2 separate regions of the Homo sapiens genome follow, and region 2 is linked to region 1. Evidence: promoter capture Hi-C in human tissues and cell types (Jung and others, 2019). All regions are on one chromosome and are shown on one strand. The core of a region is centred on a gene start or on the middle of the fragment in contact, and the rest is flanking DNA. Distances in the headings are between cores, read along the strand shown. Region 1 overlaps LINC00649 (long intergenic non-protein coding RNA 649). Region 2 holds the start of CLIC6 (chloride intracellular channel 6).

Evidence for each region. Contacts are between HindIII fragments. The study calls those that stand out against the background at their distance.
Region 2: the fragment with the promoter of CLIC6 here is called in contact with a fragment that was not itself captured in region 1 in 1 of the 25 tissues and cell types used here (dorsolateral prefrontal cortex).

The regions. Positions count from the first base shown.
Region 1 is chr21:33,954,152-33,959,135 of GRCh38, reverse strand. All of the region lies in intron 2 of LINC00649 (long intergenic non-protein coding RNA 649), which reads right to left. Among named protein-coding and RNA genes, the nearest start is that of LINC00649, 26 kb to the right of the region's middle. The HindIII fragment of the contact is 4,732 bases long and covers 1-3,921 here.
Region 2 is chr21:34,667,412-34,672,540 of GRCh38, reverse strand. CLIC6 (chloride intracellular channel 6) reads right to left here and starts at 3,547. Exons shown (of 6, transcript NM_053277.3): 1 at 1,779-3,547. The coding sequence starts at 3,152. RefSeq lists silencers at 1,835-1,914, 2,815-3,254. The HindIII fragment of the contact is 4,429 bases long and covers 480-4,908 here.

The sequences.
Region 1 (4,984 bases), core at 306-2,805:
CATGGTTTCTGGTGAGAAATACTCAGTCATATGAATCCTTGTTCCCCTATATATAATGTGTTACTTATTTCTGGCTGCTTTCAAGATTTTTCAATTATATCTGGTTTTCAACAGTGTGTGATGCATCTGGACATGATTTCCTTTTGGTTTATTCTGTTTGAGACTTGCTGAGCTTCTTAAATCTACAAATGTATGTTTTTCCGAAATGTAAGACATTTTCAGCTATTAATTCTTCAAATATATATTTTTTTCATAATCCAGTCTCTTTTCTCTTTCCTTTTGGTGCTACAAGAACAAGAATGTCAGACCTTTTGGTCTTGTACCACAGGCCACTGAGATTCTATTAATTTTTTTCAATCATTTTTTCTCTCTGTCCTTGAGACCAGATAATTTTTATAGATACATCTTCAAGTTCACTGACTCCTCTGCCATCTCCATTCTGCTATTAAGCCCATTCAATGAGTTTTGTTTTTCAGATATTACAATTTTCATTTTCAAAAGTTGTATTGTATTCTTTTATAATAGTTTCTATTTCTTTGCCAAACACTTTTTTCTTTCCATTTTAAGGTGTTTACCTTTACCTCATGGGCTTGGTTATAACAAGTAAAGTATTTGTCTGATAACTTCAGCATCTGGGCCATCTCAGGATTAACATAATCGATTGCCTTTTCCTTTAAAAAATAATCACATTTTCCTGGTTCTTTATGTGTCAAGTAAGTTTGGATTGTATCTTGTACATTTCTAATATTATTCCATGAAATTCTAGATTCTCCTTGTAAAACTTCTAGAGAATGTTGGTTTCGATTTGTTTAGCAGGCCATTAACCCTGTTGTGTTCAGATCACAGGTTCTGTCTTGCCTTCTGTTTGCAGGGTTCTAGTGTCAGGTCAGTTGTGAAAATCTTTGCAGTAGTACTTTTAGGTCTGTCCTGGGTATATACAACTTGAGGCTGAGCTCAAGATTTGTGTTGGTCCATACACAGAACTAAGGAATCCCTCTTCTCCAGCATTTCCCCTACTCCAGGAGCCCCCAGTCCCTGGGCCATGGACCATTACAGGTCTACACAACAGAAGGTGAGCTGTAAGCAAGCGAGTGAAGCTTTATCTGTATTTACAGCCAGTCCCCATCTCTCCCATTACTGCCTGATCCCCTGTCAAATCAGCAGAGCCATCAGATTCTTATAGGAGCACAAACTCTGTTGTGAACTGTGCATGCAAGGGATCTAGGTTGCATGCTCTTTATGATAATCAAATGCCTGATGATCTGTCACTGTCTCCCATCACCCCCAGATGGGACCGTCTAGTTGCAGGAAAACGAGCTCAGCACTCCCACTGATTCTACCTTATGGTGAGTTGCATAATTACTTCATTATATGTTACAATGTAATAACAATAGAAATAAAAGGGCACAATAAATGTAACGCACTTGAATCATCCTGAAACCATCCCCCTACCCAGGTCCATGGACAAATTTTCTTCCATGAAACTGGTCCCCAGTGCCAAAAAGGTTGGGGACTGCTGCCCTATTATCTAGTTCCCAGGGATCCATTTTCTCAGTCCTCTGGCCAGAAATACAGGGTTTTTCTCAGGATTTTAGGTCCACAACTAGGCTGCCCTCAGATCAAAGTTGGGAAATAGAATGGGGGAAAATGAGAAATTCAGCTCTGAACAATTCATTCTTCAAGTTTTGACTCCCTTCCTCAGTCTGCATGCTATGACTTTTCCAAGTCTTAAGTATTTTCTGCTTTTAAAAGTTTTAGTTATAATCAGTGGGAGAGAGAGAGGCTTAGAGGTTAGACTCCTTCTGGATCAGGACAGGAAGCTGATCTCTTATTTAAGGTTGTTTTAAGCACTACATATACCGCTGAGGCCCCTAATATGTCCCTCCCCCATCCCCTTTTCCTCCTTCCAACTGCAGAAAAACCTACAGCCTGAATGTAGGATCTATTGCCCCCATGTATTTTATGTTTTTTATGAAGATCCATGAATATGGTATAGTATAGTTTTATGGGTTTTTAAGCTTTACATAAATAGCTTCATGATATAAATATCCAGTACATGGTCAAAATCTGTATATTTTCTGTATCTGCTTAGAAAGAATGTATATTCTCTAACTTTTTTCAGTGGGGGGCGGGGTGGTTGTTGTTTGAGACGAAGTCTCGCTCTGTTGCCCAGGCTGGAGTACAGTGACATGATCTCGGCTCACTACAACCTCCACCTCCCGGGTTCAAGCGATTCTCATGCCTCAGCCTCCTGAGTAGCTGAGATTACAGGTGCCCGCCACCATGCCCAGCTAATTTTTGTATTTTTAGTAGACCCGGAGTTTTGCCATGTTGGCCAGGCTGGTCTGGAACTCCTGACCTCAAATGATCCACCCACCTCAGCCTCCCAAAGTGCTGGGATTACAAGCATGAGCCACTGCACCCGGCCTATTCTCTGATTGTTGAGTGTAAAATTACACATATAATTATTGTTCAAGCTTCTTATATTGTTTATATGTTCCATAATCATACTAATTCTCTGTCTTCTTGGTTTATCAATTACTATGAGAGGTATGTTAAAATCTCTCACTACAAGTATGGATTTGTCTATTTTTCCTCCTAATTTTGTAAAATTTTGCTACATATGTTTTAAGGTGATCTTGCTAGGTCAATGGAGGTGAATGTATCTTAATGAACTGTTCCTTTTATCATATGTAGTGACTATTTTTCTCTTTAAAGTGTTTTTATACATGTATTAAAAAGTCCATTTTGTCTGTTATTACTATAGCCGAACTAGTTTTCTTTTGATTAGTATTCCCCTGGTGTGTATTTTCTACCTTTCTGCGTCACTCTCTAAACAAGAGGCATACTAGAATACTAGACTGCATGTGCGTGTGTGTGTGTGTGTGTGTGTGTGTGTGTGTGTGTGTGTTTAACCTATTCTAACAATCTCTTTTTTTTTTTTTTTAGACAGGGTCTAACTGTGGTGCCCAGGCTGGTCTCAAACTCCTAGACTCAAGCAGTCCTCCCACACCATCCTCCCAAGTAGCTGAGACTTCAAGCCATGAGCCACCACACCTAGCTTCTGTCTTTTAACTGAATAATTTATTCTATTTATATGCATTATGATTACTCATATATTTAGTTTTATTACCATTGCTTTATTTTATACTTCCTACTTACTCTGTCTTTTCTTTGTTTCTTTTCTCTGTCTCTTGGATTGTTTGAGTTTTACTGATTCCTCCTTTATCCTCTAAACTATACATATATATTTTTTTAATTCTGCTCAAGAGTAATCAGACTGATTGATTTTTAGGATTTAAGTCTTAAACCAATTCTAAAAAATTTTTAGCCAGTTTCACTTTGACTGCTGCCTCTTCCCCATTACCTTTTTTTTTTTTTTTTTTTTTGAGACAGAATCTCGTCTGTCACCCAGGCTGAAGTGCAATGGCACAATCTTAACTCACTGCAACCTCCATCTCCTGGGTTCAAGTGATTCTCCTGCCTCAGCCTCCTGAGTAGCTGGGATTATAGGCTCCCACCACCACAACTGGCTAATTTTGTATATTTTTTAAGTAGAGATGGGGTTTCACCATGTTGCCCACACTGGTCTTGAACACTTGACCTCAAGTGATCCACCCACCTTGGCCTCCCAAAGTGCTGGGATTACAGGCATGAGCCACCATGCCCGACCCCATTATCTATCTTCTTACCTTCTGGAAACCCCATTACATGTATATTAGAATTTCTCATTCTGTCCTACTTGTCTCTTAATCTCTCTTTCATATTTTCCATCTCTTAATCTCTCTAAACTGCTTTCTGTGAAATTTCCTGTACCTTCCAAGTCCCTAATTCCCCTTCAGCTGTCTCTAATCTGTCCATTGAGTTTTTAATTTTAATGACTATATACTTTTCATTTTTATTAATATTATTCTTTTTCAAATCTGCCTCCTCCTTTTAATAGTCTTATTCTCTTTATCAATTTTCAATTCCTTTTTAAGTCTTTAATAATTTTAAATATATTTATTTTATAGTATATTTGATAGTTCTATTATCTTAAGTTCTTGAAACATAATCCATCAGTTGCTTGGTCGGCTGACTCTTGCTCATGGTAAATTGATTCCTCGTATGTTTTGTAATTGGATTGTGAACTTATATTTAGTAGGACTCTGTTTGTAGCAATCTTCAACTGCCTGAATTGAGGGAATGTTCCTCCAGAGAAGATTTTTTATTGCTTCTGACAGACATTGCAGGGATACCATCACTGCTTGATACCACTTCTATATTAATCTTTTATCTTAAGAATTCCCAGACCAAATGGGTAATATACATTTGAACCTTGAACCTACATGAAGAATTTATAGTATGTTACGTACTGAATGTTTATGTCCCTCCAAAATTCACATGTTGAAGCCCTAACCCCCAATATATTGTATTTGAAAATGGGGCTTTGGGGAAGTAATTAAGGTTACATGAGGCCATGAAGGTGGGCCTTTCATGATGGAATTAGTGCCCTTATAAGAAGAGACACCAGGGAGCTTGCTCACTTGCTATCTCTTGCGACACACCCACAAAGAAGAGATCATGTGAACACATAGCAAGATGGTGCCCACCTAGAAGAATAACCATCTCCTACACCAGGAAAAATGCTCACTAGGAACCAAATTGGCTGGTACCTTCATTTTGAACTTCCCAACCACCAGAATTGTGAGAAATCAATTTCTGTTTTTTAAGCTACCCAGTCTATGTTATTTTGTTATGGCAGCCTGAACAGACTAATAAATAGTAGCATCCAAAAAATCACAAACCTAGGTATTAACATAATGGAAGTTGTGTAAGAGCTCTACCATTCAATATTGGAAGATTCAATATTATAAAGATATAAACTCTCTACAATCTGGCATATCTAGAGTTTCTGTGTAATTCTAATAAAAATCCCAGCGGGTTTATTGTGAGCGTGCATGGAAATTGACAAGCTCATTCTAAATTTTATATGAAAATGTTA
Region 2 (5,129 bases), core at 2,298-4,797, 710 kb before region 1:
AAGATATGACATCCATGCTAACTCTTGGACTTGTGGCAGATAACTAGGCAGGAGGGCAGACAGGGGCGAGGAGGAGAAACTCCATTCAGACAGAGGGTACATAATGTAGAAAGTTTCAAGGCAGGAAAGAACGTGGCTCCCTCAAGGAACAGTAAGTAGTTTAATCCAGGTGGCATAGCGAGACCACAGGTAACAAAGGGTGGGGACACCCAGCAATGCCAAGGCCAGAAAGAAAGAAGGCAGAAATAACATCACAAAGGGCCTTGTGGGCTGCCTAAGGAGTGGGGATTTACCTGAAATTCTGCAATAAACAACTGAAGAATTTTACACAAAGAAATAAAATGATCAGATCTTGTCCGCAGCTCACTGGCTATTACAAAGAGACTAGATTGGAGAGGACAGAGAACTGAAACAGGGAGACTAGCCAGAAGCTGCTACTGTCCATCAAAACTGTGCTAAGAGGCCGTGTGCCAGAATCATGTATCCTTACAACCACAGCAACGGGAAATTTCTAAAACCAAGGTGATGGAGAGGAGCAGATTTGGGGTCACACAGCAGCACTGCGCTCCAGCTCTTCCCAGCAGCCTCTCAGGGGCTGGTGTCCTGAGGTTATGTCCCAGGGTCTTGAAAAAAGCCAGAAACAGCACCTTCTCACTAGGGAAGAAACACACACACACCCCTTCTTTCCCAAGCCCCTCGCCACCCAAACAATTCTTAAAATTCTGATGTTAATCACATTGGGAGCATTTCCTTTTACTTATTAAAATGTGCTTGCATTTCAGCCAGAGAGATTTAGATGGTAACTGGTTTCTATAAGCCTGGAAGTATTTCTGAAGGATTATGATTCAACATGAAATGCACATTCTTGACCTTATTATCTCCAACTTTCCTGGGTCTGGCCAAAGGTCCTCAGAAAAGGCTTTTTAAACAAAGATCCTGGTGTGAACTGCTGCTGAGCTTTGTTCTTTCATTTTTCATGCCTTGTAAATAATTCCTGTTTAAATTCAAAACTTCCTCAGTTGTGTCTCTACAGATTCCTTCACAGAATCCTTGCTCTCTTCCCATGTGAACTGAGGTTAAAAACATGACATACAAGCAGATGATGTTCAAGTCACCGGCATCTTGTATTCTTCCAAATTCAATGTTAAAACGTTCAAAAAACATTATGTCAATAAGGCTCCATTCCCCCCTAAACGTACATTGTTGATTCTACCAAAATGGAATACCTTTTTGGAGTTGAAAACATTGACCAGCTCTGGGTCTCCGAGATTGAGTCTGGAAGGCACCTCCCACATTGAACCTACCTGTCTGCGTTTTTTGGCTTCAAGTATTAAAGCTTCCTTTGGCAGAAATCCCTTTGAACACCAATAGGGTGCGTTGCTTTTCTTCTTCTTCTTCTTTTTTTTTTTTTTTTTTTTTAACTTTTTAGTTAATTCGTTAATAACCTCCTGACTAGGAGGGCTGGTTAGGATGTTCAGGTCAAAGGACAGTGGGATGCTGAACCCACAACCCCACATCCTCATTGGCCCCCATCGCACTCCCCGTCGCCCCCACCCCCAAAGTCTTTGCTTCCAAACCATTGAGTCCTCCCGCAAATGCCCTGGAAACTCTTCTCCGGGAAATCCCGGCTGTCCCGCCTACCGCCCGCGCATGGAAGCGCCTGATGACAATCAGGATACCACCAAGGGTTCCTCCCTGCGCGTCCCTCTGGGATCTGAGATGACCAAGACCTCGAATGGAAGGGGGTCGTCCTAAGAATTGAGGGAAGCGAGCTTTACCTTGACGAAGAGGGTGATGTCGTGCTCCTGCCCCAGGGCCCGGGGCTCGGACGCCTCTCCGTCCTCCCGGCGGCCGTTCACGCGCGCGGCCTCGCCGCTACCCTCGGCGGGGCCCTCCTCGGCCAGGTGGTTGCTGAGCTGGGCCTCAGGCTCCGCGGCGCCCCTGGAGGCCTCCCCATGTGGGCTGCTGTCGGGGGATTCCTCTTCGCCCCCCGCTGCTTCCTCCTCCCTTGGCCCCTCCGGGCTCCGCTCTCGTCTCTCTTCGTCCTCCCCCGGCTCCTGCTGTGGCCCATCCCCTACCCTGTCCTCGCCAGCGTCTGCCCTTGCGTCCCCGGGGGCCGCTTCTTCGGACCCCTTTACCCCCGGGACCTCCGCCTCCTCCGCTGCGTCCCAGGCGAGCTCACCGGGGCTGCGCCCCGCACTCTCCCCGGCTGCGACCTCAATTGCCTCGGCCTGGGGCGAGAGGCTGCCGTCCCCCGATTGCTGCGGCTCACCCGAGACCCGGCGCGCCCTTCCTGCCGGACCCTCGGCGTCCATGCTGTCCCCCGCCGGGCCTTCGGCTTCTACGCTGTCCCCCGCCGGGACCCCCGCTTCTACGCCGTCCCCCGCCGGGTCCCCCGCCTCTACGCTGTCCCCCACCCGGCCCTCCGCGTCTACGCTGTCCCCCGCCGGACCTTCCGCGTCTACGCTGTCCCCCACCCGGCCCTCCGCGTCTACGCTGTCCCCCGCCGGGCCCTCGGCTTGTATGTTGTCCCCCAGCGGGCCCTCCGCGTCTACGCTGTCCCCCGCCGGACCTTCCGCGTCTACGCTGTCCCCCACCCGGCCCTCCGCCTCTACGCTGTCGCCCGCCGGGCCCTCCGCTTCTATGTTGTCCCCCAGCGGGCCCTCCGCGTCTACGCTGTCCCCCGCCTCCCCGGACGCGCTACCTTCCGGGACCTCAGGCCTCTGCTCCGCCTCCTCCTGCCTCTCGGGGGCCGCAGAGTCCTCGGGCTCCCTCTGAGCCTCCCCGCGGGGCTCGCCCTGCGCGCCGCGTCCCGGGCTCGCCCCCTCCACCTGCTGCGCGCCGCTTGTCTCCTCCCCTCCTTGGGGCACCTCGGCACCCTCCGGGGCTCCCTCCTCGGCCTCAGTCTCGCCGTGCGCCCCCCTCGTGCCCCGCGCCTCGGCCTCCGGGCCCCTGTCTGGCCCGCCGCCTCCTGCCTCCTTCACAGCGGCGGCGCCCCTCGGCGCCTCCTCTGCGCCCTCGCTCCCCTCCGGCCCTTCTGCCTCCCCGCCCGCGGCTCCTGGCTCTCCGGGTCTCTCAGCCAGAGGCGCGGGGACCTCCGGCGGCCCCTGGGGACCCGGGGCAACCCCCTCCGGCTCCGCGGCCTCGGCCATGGCCGCAGATCCCTGTCCTTGATCGGGACTCCTTCCTTGACGCTGCTTAAGGGTCGGTGGCGCTGGGCAAGGGGCGTGCTACGGGGCCCTCTGTGCTCCTTGAAGGACGCCGGCTCCGGGATCCTGCGGCAAAGGTTTAGCCGGGGCACTGGGGCCTTGCGCAGGACCCGCAGGGCAAACTCCGCTTGGCCCCAAGCCTCTGCGCCCCTTCTGCCCAGCTGAAACTCCCTGGACTCTTCCTCCACTGCTGGAGCTTCTCCCCGATTGCGCGTCTGCTTCCCACCGGGACCCCAATCTCGCCCGCGGGCCGCGGAGGTGCAGTGCACGGCTGGAGAGGGCTGCTTCGCTCCTGCGCCTTTGGAAGTGCCCGGCCCGCTGTCCGCTGTCCTGGGGTTGACCAGAAGTCCTTGGTGCCAACTCCATCCCCTGGGGCTTGGGCGGGGTTTGTCTTCCCCTCCTCCCTCCTTTGTTTGGGTAGCCTAGGAGCTTGGCCAATGACAGCCTTTCTCGTGACCCTTGTGGATGTTGATGAAAAGATTCTGGTTCTCCTGGCCGCTTGGGTGTTGTTCTCTAGAATGGCTTCAAGTTCCAGAGTCACTTAAATCACCCCCTCCAAACACACACCCCGACACCCAAACACCTAATCCCCACCTTACCCCAGGAGTGAAGCATCAAGCTCCCCCGGTACCCAACTGAAGATGTCCACATTGTGCCTGATGTCCAAGAGCAAGGGTGTAAATCCCTGAGAGAAGAAGCTGGGGAGGCTACGCTGGCCGCCTTCCCATGTCTGCAGGGCCCCCGGAGAGGTTCCAGAGGCCCCTCATATAGACGCACAAGGAGCCAGTCGAGTTTCTCTGACCAGAGATGGGCGCTGTTGTCCATGAGGGTCCGCTTCTCCGGGCCTGTCTGGAGGATCGTGGGAGCCCTGCGCTGGAAAAAGGTTACACCTTCATCTCCCGGGTCTCTTAAGACTGTAAGAGTCTGTGTATCTTGCTGATTCTCCTAGATTTCTAAACTCACCACCAGTGCTTCTGCCTCCAAGTTAAGAGCTTGGGAATCTGGAGGTGGAGAAAAGAAAATCCAAGATGTGAAAGAGGGGAGCTATGGAATTCCCTGGGTTAGGGTTCTCCCAGGATCACAGACCCAATACCTACTTTAAAAAGGAAGTTATTATGGTGAAAAGTATGTCGTAAGTTTATTATAAGCCAGGCTACTTCTAGTGGGTTACCAAGAAACTGGGTTACCCAAGGTGGCACTATGTAAATGTGGTGGAACGGGGATCCCAGCTCAAGACTGACTTGATTCATCAGGCTTTATATGGCTTTGATATTGGCCTAAGATACATGAGCCCCTCATGCCCACAGAAGGTTGTTTTCGTTGAAAGAGCTGGGTGTGCCTTTGATGTGGCTTGGGGTCACACCTTTGGCCATGAACATAATGTGTCTCCTTCTACTTCCCATTGCTCATCACTGATGGATGACAGGACAGGAGCCCAGAGACACTCAGCTTCATGCTACCTTTCTCCAAGGCTGTGCTCTGTCTGGGTAGGTACAGGCCAGAAGCTTCATCACCACAAAGTGGCATCTAGTCAAAGCATGACACTCACACAGGTGAGCCAGAGATGCACGTGAGCCGTAAAAGCTCTAGGCACCTAGAAAAGGAATCCTGCTGCATTCACCGGGGCAAGGTAGCAGCCATCACCCTTATCTTGTAAAGAAAGATGAAGCCAGCACGTTCAGCCCGGAACAGCAAACACAGTACAGGTTTACAGTGCTTTATGCAAATCCCATGAGCCCGGATGTGTTTCAGAAAACAGAATTGTTAGAAAGATGATTGAGTGATTTTACTGTATATTACATAACACAGAACATCACTTTGTGATCAAACACATTAATATTTCTGCAGTAAGACAGGCATCACATTTGGTGAGATATGGTAAAATCATACAAGCTTCAGGCCCCCCACCCCCAGTTTAGG